Linked DNA regions of Homo sapiens: all the other regions are linked to region 1. The links are contacts of gene promoters, found by promoter capture Hi-C in blood cells and fetal thymus (Javierre and others, 2016). All regions are on one chromosome and are shown on one strand. Each heading gives the region's core, a stretch centred on a gene start or on the middle of the fragment in contact. The rest is flanking DNA. Distances are from core to core; before and after follow the strand shown. Region 1 holds the start of CENPB (centromere protein B). Region 2 has its middle 4.8 kb from the start of RNF24. Region 3 overlaps PANK2 (pantothenate kinase 2). Region 4 has its middle 25 kb from the start of RNF24.

Region 1 (5,237 bases), core at 313-2,812:
CTTCCTCCTCCTCCTCCTCCCCTTCCTCCTCCTCTTCCTCTCCTTCACCCTCTTCCTCCTCCTCTTCTTCCTCCTCCTCCTCCTCTTCCTCTCCCTCACTCTTGAGGGAAGTGGTGATGGTGGCATTAGGGCCACCCCCAAAGCCAGCCTCACGAAAGCAGGCGGCTATGTCCGAAGGCTCCACTGCCTGCCAGGCGGCAGCCACAAAGTGCAGGGCCTCCGTGAGACCCAGCTGCAGGCCTGAGGGATCCTGGCCCTCTAGCGCGGCCATGGCCTTGAGCAGCATGGCCTGGCGGTAGTGGCCCTTCACCTGCTGGACCACTCCCCTCTCCAGCGGATGCACGGTGCCGGGAGGGAAGAAGGCCAGCTGCACATGCCGCAGGCCCGAGGTGTCCAAGGACTGGGCAGCCAAGCGGCCGGCCAACAGCAGGACCCGGCGAGACTCTGCAGCCATTCGGGTGTCCAAGGCCTTCAAGTACTTGGCCAGGGCCTGGGTGGTGACACCACCCTTGGAGTTGGCGGTGTAGTCGCAGGGCAGGCCGGCTTGGCCTGCGCGGGGCTTGGCCGACTTGCCGGCCACCAGCGGGGGCAGCTTCTCGCTGCCGTCGGCATTGGCGCATAGCAGGACGCTCAGGCGCTGGGTGGCTTGACGCGGCCGTCCGTCGCCTCCGCACAGCCCCGCGGCCTGGTCGGGCAGGAAGTCGTACCATAGACTGGTCTCGGTGGCGCTGAACACGTCCTGCGAGGCGTAGCCCTCGGCCACCGACGGCGGCTGCTCCTCCCGAGCGCGCCAACCAGTAGTGCTCCCGCCACTGCCCTCCGAGGGCACCGCGGCCGGACTGGCAGGCGCCGCCGGGGTGCGGGGGGCAGCGTTTCGCGCGCGGGCGCGGGCCACGCCGCTGCAGGACACCACGCCGTGGCGCCGGCGGAAGCGGTCCAGCCAGCCGTTGGAGGCGGTGAAGTCGTCCATGCCCAGCTCCTCGGCTATGCGCAGCGCCTTCTCCTTGAGGATGATGCCCTTGACCGGCAGGCCGGCGGCGCGGATCTGCTGGAACCAGGCGATGAGCAAGCCCTCGAGCTTGTCGTAGGGAGACAGCTTGTTGGTCTTGCGGCAGGTGGAGGCCACCCCGTACTTGCGCTCCGACGCCAGGATGGCGCGCTTGTTCTTCAGGATCGTGCTCAGCGTGGACGGCGGGATGTTGAAGCGCCGCGCGATCTCGCCCTTGCGCAGGTCCGGATTCTCCTCCACCTCCTGGATGATCCGTGACTTCTCCCGGAACGTCAGCTGTCGCCTCTTGGGGCCCATCCCGGCGCGCCCCCCGCCCCGGGGCCCGGCGCCGCCGCCGCCGCCCCGGGGCGGGGGGCCCGGGCCCGTGGCGGGGGGCACCTGGCGGCCTCTCCCGCGCGCCCCGCCCGAGACAAAGCGGCTCGCGGGCGCGGCGGCGGGGCGACGACCCGGCCGGGCCGGGGGCACCTCCGGGGACGCCGGCGGGCGCGTCGCCGGGCGGCGGGCGGCAGGCGACGGGCGCAGACGAGGGCGGGCGGCGCGGGCGCGGAAGGCAGGAAGTGCCGCGGCGCGGGGAGCTGGGAGCGCGGCGAGCGGGGCGGAGCGGGCGGAGCGGGATCTCGCGGGAAGCGCGGGGACGCCCGGCGCCTCCTCCCCGCCCTCCGCGCCCACCCCCTTCCCGCCGCCGGGACATACCGCGGGGGGGCGCTGCGGCCTGCTGGACCTGCCCGTGCTGCGGCCTCCGGCGACCCGGCAGCGACGCGGGCGGGGACGCGGTGCATCGCTACTGCGCCCGGCGGACAGCGACTTGCTGCTCAAAAAGAATAAGAACCAGGGTTTTTGTTTGTTTTTTTTTTTTTTAATTAAGGTAAAAATAACGCACTTTTTTTTTTGCGGAACCTGAAAAATTCAAGAAGTTGAAAAACGCTTTTCACGTCACCTGGAGAGATGCACAGGTAACATTTTGATACATTTCCTTCCAGTCTTTTCTCTAGATGCATGTCGTTTTCTTTTTAAAAATTTATTATATAAAACTGGCATCAGACTGTATAGACTGTATATCTGGCATCTCCTGCTGTTTTACCTGGCATCAAGTAGTGAGAATTTTGCCATATCGGTAAGTATCATTGCCAACACGCTTTTTAATGATTGTGTAGCATTCCAGCTATGAATGAACACTAGCGTATGTAACCTATTGTTACACACTTAAGTTATTTTTAAAATCAGCATTACAGTTGTAAATCTATTTGATGGTGCTAATGACATTTTTAAAGTTCTAGTAATCCCACAACCCATAGATAAACACTCATAACATCTTGGTGTGTCACTTTCTGGGCTTTTCCATGCATATAGCCATAAATGTATGTGTTTGCACTTACAGAAATAACATCATGTATATACATAAGTGTGAATCCCTGAAGCCTCCCTCTCCTGCAGCAAAACATTAAAATGCCAAGCTCTTAAAACAATGAATGTATAGCTGTGTTTTTAAAAATCTCTTAGGGCAGCACTAAGGGGAACTCCAGCATTGGCAGAGGGGAAGGCTGTGACCCAGGGGGACAGGCTGAGGACCTGGGGCTGGATGAAGCTGTGGGTGAGTGTAGACAAAGAAGAAAAGAGGACCAAGGACAGTGCCCTGGGTCCTCCAAGGTTAAGGGCTCAAGAAAGAGGCCAGGTGCAGTGGCTCACGTCTGTAATCCCAGCACTTTAGGAGGCCGAAGCAGGCGGGACCACTTGAGATCAGGAGTTCAAGACCAGCCTGGCCAATATAGTGAAACTCCGTCTCTACTAAAAATACAAAAAATTAGCCAAGTGTGGTGGCACTCACCTGTAGTCCCAGCTATTCGGGAGGCTGAGGCAGGAGAATCGCTTGAGCCTGGGAGGCAGAGGTTGCAGGGAGCCAAGATCATGCCACTGCACTCCAGCCTGGGCAAAAGAGTGAGACTCCATCTCAAAAAAAAAGAAAGAAAGAAAGAAAGAACCAAATAGAGACTCTTGAAGTGGAGGAGCCCCTGAAGCAGGAGAAAAACCAGGCTACTGTGGCATTCTGGAAGCCAAAGGAAGAAAGTGTAACTCACTGCTGTTTTAGTGCAAATTTCTGTTTTCGTATGTTTCTTGGCCATTTGAATCCTGTGAATTTTCTAGTCATATCCTTTGACCATGTGTTTGTCTTTTTCTTGACTTTTAGGAGCTCTTTACATGCTCTGAAGAAAAGATCTTGTTAAGTATGTTGCAAATGTTTTCTCCCTGTCTGCCACTTGTCTAAGTTAGTTTAGGGAATCTTTTGGATATGAGAAGTTTTTAATCTTCAACCTGTCAATTTTTTCCTTATTGCTTCGGGGTTTTGTGTCTTACTTAGAGAGGACTTCCCTATCCCTGAGATATAAAAGATATTCTTTTAATCTCAAGGTCCAAAAGAACACGTGGGAGACTTTTCCAGAGCACTGCTTGGCCCAAGAGGAGTGTGTGGTCACTGGGCAAAAATGAATCTAAGATTACCTGGATGAGAACTCCTTGCCATGCATCTTTTCTTTCTTTCCTCTCTTTCATCCTTTTCCTTGTTTCTTTCCTTCCTTCCTTCCCTTCTTTCTTTCTCTTTCTCTCTTTTCCTTCCTTTCCTTCTTTCTTTCCTTCCTTCCTTCCCTTCTTTCTTTCTCTTTCTCTCTTTTCCTTCCTTTCCTTCTTTCTTTCCTTCCTTCCTTTCTCTTCCTTTCCTTTCCTTTCCTGTGGCCCCTCCTTAGTGCCATACAAAGGGCATTGGCACAATTACTTCTAGGACAGAAAAGCCACGCCCATCATATGCTGATGTCATAGCCATTTCCAGATACCTCGTCTACCCTTTGCCTGTAGCAGTGCACGGGGCCCATTTCCATCCCCTCTCAAGTGACCATTTCCCCCAGCAATCCATCTGAGGCCCCGGGCTTCCCCACCTCTTTCTGTAAGTCCCAGCTTTCTGCTTTTAGGACTGTTTGGGAAATCCATAACTCACCTTCTCTTCTTTTGGTCCAGCCTGCCCAGAGCTGTCCTTCAGGCCCCTCAGCAAGCTTTCCATTCTCCTTTTGTTTATTTGAGACAGGGTCTAGCTCTGTCACCCAGGACGGAGTACAGTTGCACGATCATAGTTCATTGCAGCCTCAGTCTCCTCAGTAGCTAGGACTACAGGCATGAGGCACCATGCCTGGCTAATTTTTAATTTTTTTTTTTGAGACGGAGTCTCACTGTGTTGCCCAGGCTGGGAGTGCAGTGGCGTGATCTCAGCTCACTGCAACCTCCTCCTCCCTGGTTCAAGCAATTCTCCTGCTTCAGCCTCCTGAGTAGCTGGGATCACAGGTGTACACCACCATACCTGGCTTAGTTTTGTATTTTTAGTACAGACAGGGTTTCACCATGTTGGCCAGGCTAGTCTCAAACTCCTGACCTCAAGTGATCTGCCTACCTTGGCCTCCCAAAGTACTAGGATTGCAGCCGTGAGCCACCTCACCCGGCCAAAAAATAATAATAAATAATAAAAATAAAGAGAACAACATTGGGCGCGGTGGCTCATGCCTGTAATCCCAGCACTTTGGGAGGCCGAGGTGGGCAGATTACGAGGTCAGGAGATCGAGATCATCCTGGCTAACACGGTGGAACCCCGTCTCTATTAAAAATACAAAAAATTAGCCGGGCATGGTGGCGGGCGCCTGTAGTCCGAGCTACTCAGGAGGCTGAGGCAGGAGAGTGGCGTGAACCCGGGAGGTGGAGCTTGCAGTGAGCGGAGATCGCGCCACTGCACTCCAGCCTGGGCGACAGAGCAAGACTCTGTCTCAAAAAAAAAAAAAATTAGCTAGGCATAGTGCCTTGCGCCTGTAGTCCTAGCTCCTAGGGAGGCTGGGGTGGGCCGGAGGATCACCTGAGCCCAGGAGCATGAGGCTGCAATGAACTATGATTGCACCACTGCATTACAGCTTGGGTAACAAACTTTGTTTTGAAAGAAAGGAGGAAAAAGAAAGAAGGAAAGAAGGAAGGAAAGAAAAGGCAGAGATTGCAGTGAGCCGAGATTACGGCACTGTACTCTAACCTGGGTGACAGAGTGAGACTCTGTCTCAAAAAAAAAAAAGGTTTTATTAAGATATATTTCAAGAAGCATACAATTCACCCATTTAAAGTGTACAGTTCACAGATGTGCTCAACTGTCACCACAGTCCATTTTGGAATTTTTTTTTTTTTTTTTTTTGAGACCAAGTCTCACTCT
Region 2 (5,299 bases), core at 109-2,608, 230 kb after region 1:
AGGGCAGTGAAAATACTCTGTGTATGATACCATAATGGTGGATACCTGTCATGACACATTTGTCTAAATCCATAGAATGAATAATACCAGCAGCAAACTCTAATGTAAACATGGATTTTGGGTGATAATGATGTGCCAATGTAGGTCCAACAATAGTAATAAATGCTCCCGTGGGAGAATGTTTATAATGGGGGGGCTATGTATGTGTAGGGGGGAAGGGCTAGTTGGGAACTCTGCACATTCCTCTCACTTTTGTGGCAAACTTAAAACTGCTCTAAAAAAAAGTAAAGTATTTACAAAGTCATTTTTGATAAAGTATTTTTTTCTGCCCCCACTTATTGACAGACTTTCCTTGAGAATCCCCACCTGTGCCCTGTACCCACTTCCCTCTCAGCACTAGGCACCCTCCAAGGTCCCTGCTCATTTGCATATTTTCTTACCACACCAGCATGTGAGTCCTTCATCAGCAGGATCAGTATCTCCCAGGACCTAATATGTGACTGGCACATAGTGGGTCTGCTGTGGCTATTGGTGGAGGTGATGTTCCCTGGTGGGCTGGGGAGGCTCCACAGGAGAAGGAAAGGCTGAGCTCCTTTTCTTTCTTCTTCCTTATTTTGGCTTCCTTCCTCTGCCCTGCGTTTGGAAACCTGTTTTGTTTGTTTGTTTAGAAAGCTTGGCTAGTAATTCACTAGTCCAATCAGGCTGTAGGGTAGAGGATGGAGTGGCTCATTTCATGTCTTTTGTTCTTGAAAAAATTAGGGGTGAGTGGGAAAGAGAATGAGAGAATGAACGGAAGGAGGAGGGGCCGTGTCCAGTTGCTGTTTTCAGGGAGACTCATCTTATTAAAATTTTGCTGTGTCATCAACTGGCCCAACTGGTTTTTAGGGTCAAGGAGAAAGTTTTCCTTTGGGACTGGACAGGTGGAATCTGGCCTCACAGTTTCTACAACATATGGCAGGATCCTGCTCTTCTGTCCCCTGTAGCGGGTTGTCCCGTGTTCCCCTTAAGGAAGAAATCACAGTTTTTGTCCTCCTGGTGCTTCCGGCTGGAGGTTCACCTGCTAGTCCCTGATCCTCTTTGCTTAGTGATGCACATGAGTCTACTCATCCCCCCACCACTCCCAGCCCCCACTGGTCTAGGCAAAATGCAAGTGATGGGAGAGTGTGGGTGGGCAATTCTTTCTCTGGAGGGTTTAGGTGGGTACCTCAAAACAGCAGGCAGCTAGGACTTGAAGTGGTGGCTTCGCAGCTAACATTTTCCTTGTTCCACATGATGGGTAGGGGTAGGGTAGGGAAGACTTCACTGTTTGGAGTTTCGGAGGATGCCCCTCTTTCTCTTTATCCTTCCTCCCCACAGTCCCCTCCCATCTCCTCCCTTATACCTCTTTTTTTTTTTTTTTTTTTTTTTTGAGATGGAGTTTCGCTCTTGTTGCCTGGGCTGGAGTACAGTGGCGCCATCTCGGCTCACTGCAACCTCCATCTCCCAGGTTCAAGCAATTCTCCTGCCTCAGCCTCCTGAGTAGCTGGGATTACAGGCATGCGCCACCACGCCCAGCTAATTTTGTATTTTTAGTAGAGACGGGGTTTCTCCATGTTGGTCAGGCTTGTCTCAAACTCCTGACCTGAGGTGATCCACCTGCCTCGGCCTCCGAAATTGCTGGGATTACAGGTGTAAGCCACCACGCCCAGCCCTTATACCTCCTTTTAAGCAATGTCCTCACCCCAAATCCATCTCAGAAAATTGTCCCTACCCATATGGTCAGAAGTCCTTCAAGACTCCTGGAAAAGAAATCACAACTACTTTTAAATCAAACGTCTGACTAATTTTGGAACAGTGAGAACAGGGGCTGGTTTTAGTCATCTTTGGATCAGGTGCCCAATACAAGTTTGTTGAATGAATGCCTGACTGGTCAAGACAAAATCAGTCTTTCAAACAGAAGCTAGAAATCAAAGGTTGCCTATAGCCCCATTCCTCTGTCCATCCTCCCCATCTGTTGAGATGGCACGATTTCAGAAAAACATCCCTCCCACTGGTCAATCCTTTGAAAGCTTAATTATTCAGAGTTCTAAATGACCCCTTTAAGGGTTGATCATATAATGCTTTGACCCGTTGGACTGTGCCAGTAGAGGAGGAGATGTTCTGTGTTCCCCGAGCCTCTTCATCCAAGAATTCCAAAGTGACTCCTCCTGCCTTGATCCCTCCCAATGGCCCTCTCCTCCTCATAGCCCATGGGGACCTCTTGCTGGGGCGTGACGCTGCCCACGGAGGGGTGGAATTGCTTCTTCTTTTTTTTTTTTTAGATGAAGTCTCTCTGTCGCCCAGGCTAGAGTGCAGTGGTGCAATCTTGGCTCACTGTAACCTCCGCCTCCTGGGTTCAAGTGATTCTCCTGCCTCAGCCTCCCGAGTAGTTGGGATTACAGGCACCTGCCACTGCGCCCAGCTAATTTTTGTATTTTTAGAAGAGACAGGGTTTCACCATCTTGGCCAGGCTGGTCTCGAACTCCTGACCTCAAGATCCACCCGCCTCGGCCTCCCAAAGTGCTGGAATTACAGGCATGAGCCACCGGAATTGCTTCTTAATGCAGAATGTGTGTGCAAGACTGTGAAACAGCAAGAGTTGGGGAGAAAGCGTAGGTTTCTGTGTGCATGGTACCTTTAGGACTGGCTGTGTGTCCACCCACAAGCCAGCGAAGGAGGTGGGAACCTGGGATTCTGTTTACCCAGCCACCAACAAGCCCCGTTGCCTTTCTGGCACACACAAGCCCAATCACCCAGAACTCCTGAAAATATAAATGTTCTCAAGATCTCATGTGGGAGCTTTTTAGCTGAGACCAGCCACACATGCAGGAGACTGGAAGCACTATTTCCCAGGGGTGGAACAACCTGCTCAGACTCACTTTTAGATTGGAGGATACCCATCTCAGCGTGGATTCTCCCAAGAACAGATCTTAAGACAAGGGCTTGGATGTAGGTAATTTACTTGGGAGGTGATTCCAGGAAATAAGAGTGAAGAAATGGGGAAAGCAAGCTGTGAAAGGGAGAGAAGCCAACAGTAAGGTATGCTGATGGGCCAGTTACTGCCATGGGCAACTGAGGCTCAGTCTGGCTTGGCGTCCACTGAGAAACCTTGTAGAACAGCCCTCAGCATTGTCTGCCTGGATGACCAGGAGGCCAGAGTATTTCTCCACTGACTTCAGTGTCTTGGTTGCTTTTCTTTTCTTTTTTTTTTTGAGACGGAGTTTCGCTCTTGTTGCCCAGGCAGGAGTGCAGTGGCATGATCTCAGCTCACTGCAACCTCCGCCTCCCGGGTTCAAGAGATTCTCCTGCCTCAGCCTCTCAGGTAGCTGGGATTACAGGCATGCGCCACCATGCCTGGCTAATTTTGTATTTTTTTAGTAGAGACGGGGTTTCTCCATGTTGGTCAGGCTGGTCTTGAACTCCCGACCTCACGTGATCCACCTGCCTTGGCCTCCCAAAGTGCTGGGATTACAGGCATGAGCCACCGCGCCTGGCCCTCTTTTCTTTTCTTTTCTTTTTTTGAGACAGAGTCTCACTCTTGTCACCCAGGCTGGAGTGCAGTGGCGCCATCTAGACTCATTGCAACCTCTGCCTCCTGGTTGTTCAAGTGATTCTTGTGCCTCAGCCTCCTGAATAGTTGGGATTACAGGCGTGTGCCACCATGCCCAGCTAAATTTTGTATTCTTAGTAGAGACAGGGTTTTGCCATGTTGGCCAGGCTGGTCTCAAAATCCTGGCCTTGAGTGATCTGCCCAGCTCAGCCTCCCAGAGGGTACTTTCAAGTTACATCTATGGAACAAAGCAAGCCGCTCTGCTAAGCTCCTCCAGTTATTGATTACACAACCCCCACAGCTGTGACCACCATTTGGCTACCACCATCATCACAGCTTCTGCCCCTCCAATTTCCCCCAGCCAATTATATCACTGCCTTTTCTCTCTGCTAGGTTCTGTTAGGCCTGAGCTTTAAAGAGAAAGGAATAAAGTGGAATGATATATCTTTGCCCATAACTCATTCTAGGAAAAAGGAACTATGCTGGTTTTCTTTTTCCTCCATTTCAACCTATCCAATCTACCCAAATAGTTCCCAATCATTATCACCTCATCCCAAAGCAACAGACGGGAAAGAGGAACAGGGCAAGAAAGCAGACAGGCTTTCTGGAGTGACTTTTATCCCCACAGAGTCATAGATGCAGAGTTGGAAGAGATGAATTCTCTCATTTGGGAGATAAGGACACCATGCAGATAAAGAGACTCTGTATCTTCTGCTTTTCCTGCTGCTGCAGTGCTTCCTCCAGGCAGGCTTCCTTAGTTTTTCTTGGCTTCCTACCCTTCCAACCTACGCCATCATAATCTGGACTCCAGCCCTTTATTCCCTCAAAGGCTGACTCAGGCCATGACTGAGGGAAGAAGCTTGGATTCTGTAGTGGAACAGCATTGTCCATGGGGAGACACGGCTTCCATCCCAGGCCTTTGGTTCCATTACTTAGTTTCTCACTTGCCTGTCTGTCATCCAAAGGGGCTCACAAGGAGGGGAATGCAGGGAGGAGACATCTCCCTAATACCATTGGAGTTTTTTTCCAGGTTAAGATGGTGCATTGAATCCACCCATCTACTTTTGCTCCTCCCAAAACTCACTAAAACTATTATAAAGGGATTTTGTTTAAAGACACAAACTCATGAGGACAGAGAGAACAGAGTAGACAATAGTGGGGGAAAAATAAGTTGGAAGATAGAAAACAGATGGGTGAGTGGTAATCGACTCAGCAGCCCCAAGAAAGCTGAAACCCAGGGAAAGTTAAGAGTAGCCCTATTTTCATGGCAAAATCCAAGGGGGGGTGGGGAAAGAAAGAAAAACAGAAAAAAAAATGGGAATTGGCAGTCCTAGATATCTCTGGTACTGGGCAAGCCAAAGAATCAGGATAACTGGGTGAAAGGTGATTGGGAAGCAGTTAAAATCTTAGTTCCCCTCTTCCACTCTCCGAGCAGCAGGTTTCTCTCTCTCATCAGGCAGAGGGCTGGAGATTTCACCTCCGGAGAGAGTAAAAAGGAGGATCTCTGGGCTGGGGCACCAGGCGTGGCTGAGGACAAAGGTGGCATGTGGAGAACAGGGGCGTTAAGTGACTATTTCCTCACTGCATGCTGAGAACCTCAGCTTTCTTCTCTGATCACTTCCCAAATCACTGGCAGCTACTCTCCACCTCTCTTCTCTGAGCACTCTGACCAGCCAAAAGGGAAAGAATGAAGGATACTGGCATTCAGATTTCCAGTAAACGACCATCCAT
Region 3 (5,378 bases), core at 425-2,924, 130 kb after region 1:
TACAGTTCATGTTTCTGTATACATCTTTTTTTGTGATCTGACTTATTTTATTTTGCTTTATATTAGAATTTTTTAAACTCGAATGTTAGATCTTTTTCTGCTTTATTTCTGCCTCTTGTTTAACCTTTTCCTAGGTAGAACATGGAGATTAGTTTTTTAAGTTAACCTTAAAAAAAAAATAGGCTGGGTGCGGTGGCTCACGTCTGTAATCCCAGCACTTTGGGAGGCTGAGATGGGCAGATCACCTAAGGTCAGGAGACCAGCCTGGCCAACCATGGTCAATGTGGCAAAACCCTGTCTCTACTAAAAATACAAAAATTAGCTGGGCGCAATGGCGGGCGCCTATAATCCCCAGCTACTCGGGAGGCTGAGACAGGAGAATCTCTTGAATCTGGGAGGCGGAGGTTGCAGTGAGCTGAGATCGCACCACTGTACTACAGCCTGGGCAACAGAACGAGACTCTGTCTCAAAAACAAAAACAAACAACAACAACAAAACAAACAAAAACACCAAACAGGCCAGGTGCAGCGGCTCACGCCTGTAATCCCAGCACTTTGGGAGGCCGAGGTGGGCGGATCATGAGGTCAGGAGTTCAAGACCAGCCTGACCAACATGGAGAAGCCCTGTCTCTACAAAAAATACAAAAATTAGCTGGACGTGGTGGCACATACCTGTAATCCCAGCTACTTGGGAGGCTGAGGTGGGAAAATCTCTTGAACCCGGGAGGCAGAGGTTGCGGTGAGCCGAGATCGCACCACTGCACTCCAGCCTGGGCAACAAGAGCGAAACTCCATCTCAAAACAAAAAACAAAACACCAAACCGATATCATCATAATAGTTATAAGCCTTCGTGAAATTCTTGGTTGCATTTTGTCCTTATTGCTCGCTGACTTTGTTTTTCCCACTGCTTAGCTTTGCTGGTCCATTTGTCCCTGTGTTTTCCATTTGCATTCAGGCCTTTGACTCTTGTGTGCATCTCTGCCCTTGTGGAACTTTGATGATTATTTTATTTTATTTTTTTATTTAAGTTCTAGGATACATGTGCACAACGCGCAGGTTTGTTACATACGTATACATGTGCCATGTTGGTGTGCTGCACCCATTAACTCGTCATTTACATTAAGTATATCTCCTAATGCTATCCCTCCCCCCTCCCCCCACCCCATGGCAGGCCCTGGTGTGGGATGTTCCCCTTCCTGTGTCCAAGTGTTCTCATTGTTCAGTTCAGAACTTTGATTATTTTAGCCTCTCTGAGCCTTGAAATATTTTCTTGCCCTCACATTGAAGTCACTTTAACTTTTGTTGTGAAAGCTTCGTATAGATTCTCTCAAGCGTTTCCTCTTTGATCCTTTATTCTCATCTTAGCACGTTGTAGTTTATAACCACCTGTTTCTGTCTTGATAGTAGCATCCTAGTCTTCAGTGGACCCCCCCCATATATATATATAATGGTTAACTGTATCTTCTATATTTTTATTATAAAATAAAAGGTACAGAAAGCTGCCTAAAACAAACTGTATAGTGAACTATTAAGACAAACAGCCTTGCCTCTGTATTTCAGCTGTGCCTTGTCCTGTAGCTGCTGGCCGCCTCACATCACAGATTGGTGTGGCTGCCTTTATTTTATTTATACACACCAAAACCAAAGATGGTCAATATGCCTTTCTTTTTTTTGTTTTTTGAGATGGGGTCTTACTCTGTCAGCCAGGCTGGAGTGCAGTGGCGCAGTCTCGGCTCACTTTAACTTCTGCCTCCTGGGTTCAAGTGATTCTCTTGTCTAAGCCTCCTGAGTAGATGGGACTACAGGCACGTGCCACCGCACCTGGCTAATTTTTGTATTTTTAGTAGAGACACGGGGTTTGCCATATTGGCCAGGCTGGTCTTGAGCTCCAGACCTCAAGTGATCCACCTGCCTTGGCCTCCCGAAGTGCTGGGTTACCTGTGAGCCACTGCGCCCAGCCAATATGCCTTTCTTTTAAATTGCCAACTAGAGTGTGACAAGAAAGCCTTTGGCCTCTCGTTTGATCAGGTTTCTTGAAGAAGCTTTTCGTGAAAGATAGAGTGGTAGTTATTTATGTTTCAGAGACTTTTAAAAAATCCATACACAAGTCTTTCAGGATCTTCTCATTCCTTTTTTAGTTATTTCTTTTAAAAAGTAGTCTGATATCTTACCTTACAGGTTGGAGACCCTGATGGATTCTGCATCGTTTTAGGATTTGCCTCTGATTCTTGCTAGTGTTCTCTTTTCTGTCATTATGGGGTTTGCCCCGTTTTCTCTAATGTGCTATTCCTGTGTTTTGGTTTTGAGTTCTTGGTTGCATGTGACCTGACTGCTTCTGGAGACAGTACAGTGCTTGTCGTCTCTCAGCTGCTGCTTCTGTGTCTCAGGAGGGCTGAGGGCTGCCCTCCCTCGGGAGCCTCCGTGCTTCCTCAGGCTTTGCTCTTTGTTCTGTACCTCTCTTCACGTTACCTTTGGGTGGTGGTTTTCATTCCTGTGCCGCCTGCTTCTGGGCCAGTGATCCAGGTGTCTGGTGACCACCCGGGCACAGCTGCTTGGCTGCTGTGGGCACCTCAGCTTCCCATGTCCTGTAGGGAACTCACCCACCGGCCTTGCTCTCCACACCTCTTACTCCTGTGTCCCCTTTCTCGGGGATGCTGCCCCCTCCTGCTGTCCTGTCCTCTGTTAGGGGTGAATCTTGAATCCATCTTATCTCTTACTCTCCCTCCCTCTCCCAGCTCAGTCGGGCTCTCACCCTCTGTGACCCACCTCACAACTTCACCTGTTTCATTGCACTTTGCATCCGACCTCGCCTTCATTCCTTAGTTGTCTGGAAATGCTCCAGGCCTCTGCTGCTTCTCACCTCATTCCCCAGAAACAGTCAGGTTCTGTCTCTTACCAGAGGTAACTGAGCTGCTGCTGGCCTCATAGCTCCTGTCGCCCTCACTGCGGGTTTGGTTTTCCTCTTATCACAGTGGTCTGAAGTGCTTGGATAGTCTAGGACATCCAGCCCCCTCCCCAGACAGGGACTCCTTAGGGCGTCTCTGCTCCCAGGCTGGCCTTGGCCCTTCTGGGGTGCTCAGGAAATGGGTATGCTGTGTGTGGGCAGTGGTTGGCTTTAACACTAGTCATCATGTGTAAGGTGATTTGAATAAGTCTAAGGAAAATTGCACTTATTTTTGGTGTATTTTCTTTCAGGGTTATTTTGGAGCTGTTGGAGCACTCCTTGAGCTGTTGAAGATCCCGTGATCATTACCTGGGGAGGGGTTCCTGAAACCTTCCACAATGGGATCTGTGGACTTTCATTTTTTTAAGAGACTTACTCAATTTCATGACTGTACTACCTGAAACAAAGTGAGAAAGGACAGGTGTATTTTTCTAAGTCATCAAGATAAATCCTTAAGAATTCAGTCTAAATTAGCAACCAGGAAGGAAAAATATATTAAAAACAACAAAAAAGTGGCACATGTCCAGGCAGTGTGAGGATTTGCTGTATATAAGTTGCCTGCTTTGTATTTTTGAAATCTCTGCATCACTCATTGGAAGTGCTTCTGAAGAGAGCTGCTCTGTGTTCAGTTGACTGGTTTTGTGTCCTGTTTGAACTTGCTGAATGTAAGGCAGGCTACTATGCGTTATAATCTAATCACAATTTGTCAATATGGTCTTGGCAATCATCTGTGCATTACTCTGGTTTGCATTAAGCCTGTGTGTGAACTTACTGTAAAACATGTTTTATTTCAAGGTTCTGCAAAATTAATTGGGCAGGTTAATTGTGTACCTGAAACTTAACAAGCAGTTTTTGGAAGGGCAGTTCCACGTTACTTTACACTAAATCCTGGGAATGAATGTCTGGAGAGACAGGGCTTCTTTTCTTGGCAGAATTTCCTTGGGTAGTGGGCGGACTGTTCTGATGCAAGTGGGTACACTGGCAGAAGCAGCACAATCTGGAGGACTAACATGAGTCAGCAGGGCCACTAGAATTGACACCCCCTCAGGGGATCAGGGAGAATCTGGTTTTTCTTTCAGGCTAAGTAGAAAAGGAAGAACTGAAGTGTCTGTCAAAGAACTCATGGGGAGTGGGGGGTCCTTCAGGGCACTGTGGCACTTGGGAGGTGAGTCTCAGAAGACTGCCTGAGGAGAGTGCCAGGCTGCAGGTGCTCTTGGTAGGGGCTGAAGCTTTTCTTTCTGCTTTGCAGAATAATTTCAAAAGCCTTTCCCAAGGAGAGAATGCACCTTTTATATCTGAGGTCTTAAGTGGTGCCCATATTGCTGTTGAAGGCAAGGATGGGCCTGTACAAAGCAGCCTTGGACCAGGAGGGAAAACCCCAAGGCTCTGCAGCCTCCCTGCTCCCCTCCGTTTAAGGCTGTGGTCAGGGAGGGATGGGCAGGGTGCCAGCCGCATGGAGGCAGCAGAGACACCCGTGTTCCAGCTGGGGCAAGGGGAACTGATATGTGGGCTGTGGGCTGTTCCACTAGGCGTGGCCACCTCTGCACATGGGCCTTGGCACTTAGGAAATATGGGTGCTGCTGCATTGGGACCTTGTGTGGGTGCAGAGCAGGATGGCTGCTGCGTGGAGGGTAATTTTGTCCCCTGGAGAGTGATTGGTGACCCTCTTCCCTGCTGCTGCTGTTTGCAGGCTCCTGGCCTATACTACCTCTGACGCCCTGATCCTGAGTTCCTCTGCCCTCCTCTGCTGCCAGCAGCGCTGTTGGTGGCCTCACCCTCCTCCAGTACCCAGGCACCAAAGATGGCACCACCATCCTCCTGCTTGTACCACAGGGTGCTGCTCCCTGGGCCAACTCCTGTGAACTTGCTCACTTCCCATGGAGACCGAGGCCAGGGCCTGCCCCTCTGAGGCCCCTGTTTTGTGGTCCTGCTGCCTCTGCTGTGCTGCGTTCAGGAGGTTGTCCACTGCTCGACGTGGGTCACCATGCAGCCCTTGCTGTTCCCACAATTTAACAGAAAAGGAAACTGAACGGATGAGTAAGGCTGCCCAGGGTCACTCAGCTGGAAAAGAGTAGAGCTGGACTCAAACCCGGGACTGTCTGTCTCTGGTGCCTGAGTTGGGAAGACGCTGTTGATGTCCCCTTCTGCCTCGCTTTGAGCTTCCTCCTCCGTGGGCCCTCCCCCTACTCTAGAGAAACTAGTCCATTCCCTCATGTTCCACCTTGTGCTCAGTAAACCCTGTCACTCCACAGCAGGGTTTTTGAGACAGTCTCGCTGTGTCACCCAGGTGGAGTGCAGTGGGGCGATCTCAGCTCACTGCAACCTCTGCCTTCCAGGCTCAAGCAATTCTCCTGCCTTAGCCTCCTGCGTAGCTGAGACTACAGGCATGTGCCACCATGGCTGGCTAATTTTTATATTTTTAGTAGAGATGGGG
Region 4 (5,388 bases), core at 1,542-4,041, 250 kb after region 1:
AGTCCCTTGTGCCATGTGAGGTAATATACTCACAGCTTCTGGAGATTAGGATGTGGGCATCTTGAAGGGTATCATTATTCTGTCCACCACATGCCCATGGTCCAGGGTTCAGAATAAAAGGGGCTCTGAGTTGGCAACATCTGCCCAGAGGAAGCCAGTGCTGTGAGAAGGGGAAGGTGGTACAAGGGGCTATAAACTAAAATGCAGAAATACAGAGGAAGACATATTTCAGTGGTTACATAGCATGTGGTGTGTGTATGCGTGACTGTGTGTGTTTGTGTGCATGTGCGTGTGTGTCTGGGGGAAGGAGGTAGAGGAAGTGAGATGATGGTGACAGTGACAGCAGCTTGGAGAAGACAGGGGGGTGGGTCTACTTCTGAGGAAGTCCTTGGCTGAGGTAGGGCCGCAGAGAGGCAGGGTGAGGGTGGAGCCTGTGGTTTCAGAGAGGAGTTTTAATGGCTGCCAAGAATGTGCACATGAAGCCGAAAGGGAGTGCGGCCTGGAGCTGCAGTCAGCCCAGAGGGCGGGTGGAGCCTGTCCCAGGGCACTAGGATCGCAGAGAACGACAGGAGGGAGCAGGGCTCTGTGAGCAGGGAGAGGAAAAAGAGAGAAACTAGGTTTGTGATGGAAAATGGGCTATGGTTTCATAATTGGAAGTGCCTGTGGGCAATGAGTATAAATGGAGGGTTTGGTAACACTTGGGGAAAAATTATTAATTTGGAACTTCTATAAAGCCTTTTGTCTCCTATTAAAAATCCTGTGGGTACCAAGTGAATTTCATCATTTAATTCTCTCAATAAACAATGAACTGCTACTTTGCATGGGACAACATTCTCTGGAGATGCATACAGTGAACAAACAAGGTGAATGAATGGACTCAGGGAATTAGGTGTCACAGGCATAGAAAGGCAAGGAGATGAAGGAGTAAGTCAGCAAGAGGATGATGGAGGCAGAATCAGCTTTCCCCAGCAGGGGATGACACGGGGTTTTCGATATCACCTGCCCGGGGAGGCTTGCCCATTTCCACTCTCCAGCCCACCTGCCCAGGGGATAGGCTTTGAAATGTATATTCCCTACTGTCCGCCTCCTTGGAGCCATTCCTTCATTTCTTCCTTCCTCCTCTTCCTCTCCCCTTGTCTTCCTTTGCCTTGGAGCTTGGGAGGCTCCAGGCAAGAAGAGGGGGACTGCGGCATCTTTCTCTTGCTTCCCTCTCTTCTTTCTACCCTTTGGATCCCATTCAAAACAGATAAATAGAGGTCCACTGTGGGCCTGGAATCATGCAGGGGTTACAAGACGGGGGACTCCCATGACCAAGCGTGATTCTCCAGCAAGGGGATTTCTGGGAGCCCTTAGCAGCTGACACATGCAGCAGCTGGGCCAGGGGTGGACCAGCCTGTTAAGGGGATCTGTGTGGGGCACCAGTATCCTCTACTATAGCAAGGATGTGGAGTAGCAGATAATCTCACACCCTGCTATAGATTGGAATAAAACTTTAGAAAGCAATTTGCTAATATTGTATAGAGAGGAAGACACACATGGCCTGTGACCCAGCAATTCCACTTCCAGTCACATACCCAAGAGAAACTTTGCATGTGCATGAGGAGACAAGGAATGTTCATTGCAGCATAATTTGAAAAAACAAAAGCTGGAAATAAATGAAATGTGCATCTTATAGGAAGTTGGATCTATTCACGTAATGGAATACAGCAGGTAAAATAAACAAGATTTATGAGTATCATCAGAGATAACTCTAAAAGCATGATGTTGAGTGAAAAAAGCATGCTACCAAATGATATATATAATGTTGCCATTTATTTATGTATTATTTATTTATTTATTTTTGAGACTGAGTCTTGCTCTGTCGCCCAGGCTGGAGTGCAGTGGCATGATCTCGGCTCACTGCAATCTCCGCCTCCCAGGTTCAAGTGATTCTCCTGCCTCAGCCTCCTAAGTAGCTGGGACTACAGGCGTGCACCACCATGCCCGGCTAATTTTTGTATTTTTAGTAGAGACAGGGTTTCACTATGTTGGCCAGGCTGGTCTTAAACTCCCGACCTCAAGTGATCAACCTGCCTTGGCCCCCTAAGCTGCTGGATTACAAGCTTGAGCCACCGTGCCGGGCCTAATGTTGCCATTTATATAAAGTTTAAAGACACGCAAAACAATACGTTTACATATATATGTGTATATATGTATATATGCATTTATGTATGTATATATCTGTGTATATATAGTAAACATATATGTATGTAACATAGTAAACATATATACACACATACACAAACACACACATATATAGTAAAAGTGTAACAGCATGCTTGGGAATGCTAATACTCAATATAGAGTAGTGGGACTTGCAGCCAGATTGCTTGGATTTGCATCCTAGTTCCTTTTCTTACTAGCTGTATAATCTTGGAGAAGTTATTTAACCTCTGCAGGCCTCAGCTTGCTTATGTGTTAAATGGGAAATGCCAATTGTATCAGCCAGCAATTGCTGCCCTAATGCTGTGTAACAAACAACCCCTAAGCTCAGTGGCTTTCAACCACAAGCAGTTATTTTCTATCCACAAGCCTGTGAGTTGGCTGTGGCTCTGCTGGACTGGGCTCCAGGAAGTGGCTTAGGTTCATGTCTGCTCCACGTGTCTCCACCAGCAACTATCCAGGGCTTGTTCTTTTCAGGGCAGAGGTCACATGCATGGGTGGCTGCTGAAAGCACATGATGCCTTCTTGAGTCTTTGGCCCAGAACTGGCATATTGCTTCCACCCACATTCCAGTGGGGTAGGGAAAGTATACACCACCCACAGTGATCCAGAGCAAGGGCAGCAGGAGAAGGAGGTACTGGGAGCAAGTAATGGTGCAATAGTGCCTACCTGCTTTGTTTGAAGCATTAAATGAGTTAATGTGTGTCAGGTGCCTGGCACATAGTAGGTGCTATATTCTTACTAATCAGGAGAATGATGAACTCTGGGAGAAAGAGGAAATTTAACTTATCCATTAAATTTCTTTTTTAAAAACAAAGATCATAAAAAGAAAAAGAGGGAAAAATATTTGCTTTCAGAAGAGAAAGCGAGAGAGAGAGAGAGGACACGAATGCTGCAGACTGAACCACAGGGAGCATTGGCATTCAGGAAAAAGAGGAAAATGGAAGACTTAATTGTAGACTCCAGGAGGCAGGGACTGTGTGTGGCCTCACTCATTTCTCTGTCCCCAGCACCATGTCTGACACATGGTAAATGCTCCTAAGGAGCACAGGGAAAGAAGAAACAATGATAGAGGCAGAGGTTGGAGAGAATCTGAGAAAAATGAGAAGCTCTCACCCTAAAAGCTAGAGGAGATCGTTAAAAGGGGCTGGATAGCTGCCTTGTGGACTGGTCAGCAGTGGCCATCATCCCACTCTGGACCCAGCCTCACTGTTGGGTCTGGTGTTCCAGGACACAGGGGACAGACTTGCTATTTCATTTGGTGAGTTTTGTCTCAGGCCAAGCTTCTGAGTAGTAGGAGGTGAAAGGCCCAGTCCCCCGCTATTGATCTCTTAATTTCAGCATCCTCTTCTCTCCCTTTTCCCTTTGGCTGTCCCTGATTCTCCTTTTCAAATCTCCTTCCAGCCTCCCACTCCTCGGGTCCCCACTGCCTGGAGGAATATGCAGAGGCCAAGACAGAAAGGAGGCTGGGCACGGAGGCTCACACCTGTAATCCCAGCACTTTGGGAGGCCAAGGCAGGCAGATCACTTGAGCCCAGGAGTTCAAGACCAGCCTTAGCAACATGGCAAAACCCTGTCTCTACTAAAAATATAGAAACTAACCGCTGTGATGGCACGCACCTGTACCTGGGAGGCTGGCTTGAGCCCTGGAGGTGAGGCTGCAGTAAGCTGTGATCGCACCACTGCACTCCAGTCTGGGAGGTGGACTGACGAGTGTTGGGGGCTCTCAGAGACCAGGAGGGGGGCCAGGATAGAGCCCTTCTTCTTTGTTTTCCTACTTTGGCCTGAAAAGCTCCACTGAGCCTTCATGAAGGGCAGGCAGCCAAAGGCTGGGGAGAAGGTGGACTCATTTCCTTGTAAATTACGTGGTTATGAGGGCGGGAATTTCACATGTGGCTTTTTGCATAATCAGGTTATCAGGTAGTTGGCCCATTCCTGGGCTCATAAAGTCTCTGGTTGCTCTGACTCATAGCATGGAGTGGGAGGCGAGCCAGCAGGGATGGGGCTGGGAGGAGGTGCCCGCCAGCTGCCTGCTTGGGTGGTGTCAGGTGGGGATCCTTTTCAGAGCCCAAGTGTCATAAACATCTGGGCTTGAGAATCGGTCTACTTGAGTTCAAGTCTTGGCCTCACCGCTTGCCAGCTGTGTGACCTTGGGCAAGTTCCTAACCCTCCCTAGTCCTTTATTTCTGCATTAGGGCAAGGGTGGTGGTTTAGAGAAGGATTTGCCTGGGAAAGAGCAGGTGGCTGCTTAAGCAGATCCCCAGGAGGGCAGTATGTGGGTGTGGCCACCAACCTCCTGAATCCAATCCACAGATTTCCCTGAAAAAATGTAGTGGTTTGCACTCTGGCAAACCGTGGGGCAATATCTAATAAACTCACTGCATTAATTTTCTAGGGCTGCCATGACAAAGTACCATACACTGGGTGGACAGAAACAACAGATATTTATCCTCCCGCAGTTCAGGAAGCTAGAAGTCTGAGATCAAGGTGTTGGCAGAACCGGGCTCTAAGAGAGAATCTATTCCATGCTCTTTTTTTTTTTTTTTTTTTTTCCTGAGACAGAGTCTTGCTCTGTTGCCCAGGTTGGAGTGCAATGGCACAATCTCAGCTCACTGCAACCTCCACCTCCTGGGTTCAAGCGATTCTCTTGCTTCATGCTCCCAAGTAGCTGGGATTACAGGCGTCTGTCACCACACCCAGCTAATTTTTTTTTGTATTTTTAGTAGAGATGGGGTTTCATCGTGTTGGCCAGGCTGGTCTCAAACTCCTGAACTCAGGTGATCTGTCTGCCTCAGCCTCCCAAAGTGCTGGGATTACAGGCATGACCCACTGCACCTGGCCTATTCTGTGCTTTTCTCTGAGTTTCTGGAGTGGCGTTCCTTGGCTTGCGGCAGCATCACTCCAAGCTCTGCCTTTGTTGTCATGTGGCATGCTCCTTGCGTGTCTCTGTCTCACGTGGCTCTCTCTTCTGTGTGTGTCTGGGTCCAATTTCCTTCTTATAAGGACACCAATCATATTGGATTACAGTCCACCCTAATGACCTTCTCTTCATTTGATTATATCTGTCAAGACCCTGTTTCCAAGGAAAGTCATGTTTGTAGGTATCAGGGATTAAGTCTTCAACATATCTTTTTGGGGGACATGATTCAACCCATATCACCCACTTTACCTACGAACAGTAGGACT

Evidence for each region. The method cuts DNA at HindIII sites, captures the fragments that hold promoters and counts their contacts. A CHiCAGO score of 5 or more calls a contact.
Region 2: a fragment that was not itself captured here is called in contact with the fragment with the promoter of CENPB in region 1 in 12 of 17 cell types (naive CD4 T cells, activated CD4 T cells, non-activated CD4 T cells and 9 more); the score reaches 8.6 in naive CD4 T cells.
Region 3: a fragment that was not itself captured here is called in contact with the fragment with the promoter of CENPB in region 1 in 1 of 17 cell types (erythroblasts); the score reaches 5.5 in erythroblasts.
Region 4: a fragment that was not itself captured here is called in contact with the fragment with the promoter of CENPB in region 1 in 3 of 17 cell types (naive CD4 T cells, erythroblasts and non-activated CD4 T cells); the score reaches 5.7 in naive CD4 T cells.

What each region holds. Positions count from the first base shown.
Region 1 is chr20:3,785,178-3,790,414 of GRCh38, forward strand. CENPB (centromere protein B) reads right to left here and starts at 1,563. Exons shown (of 1, transcript NM_001810.6): 1 at 1-1,563. The coding sequence starts at 1,306. It also overlaps a transcript of CDC25B not described here. RefSeq lists enhancers at 259-969, 935-1,074, 970-1,679 and a silencer at 1,515-1,864. The HindIII fragment of the contact is 5,522 bases long and covers 1-4,048 here.
Region 2 is chr20:4,017,742-4,023,040 of GRCh38, forward strand. No RefSeq gene overlaps it. Among named protein-coding and RNA genes, the nearest start is that of RNF24, 4.8 kb to the left of the region's middle. The HindIII fragment of the contact is 1,376 bases long and covers 671-2,046 here.
Region 3 is chr20:3,920,049-3,925,426 of GRCh38, forward strand. It overlaps PANK2 (pantothenate kinase 2), which reads left to right. Exons shown (of 7, transcript NM_001386393.1): 7 at 3,196-5,378. The coding sequence ends at 3,246. Among named protein-coding and RNA genes, the nearest start is that of MIR103B2, 5.2 kb to the left of the region's middle. The HindIII fragment of the contact is 731 bases long and covers 1,310-2,040 here.
Region 4 is chr20:4,037,847-4,043,234 of GRCh38, forward strand. No RefSeq gene overlaps it. Among named protein-coding and RNA genes, the nearest start is that of RNF24, 25 kb to the left of the region's middle. RefSeq lists an enhancer at 98-147. The HindIII fragment of the contact is 1,383 bases long and covers 2,101-3,483 here.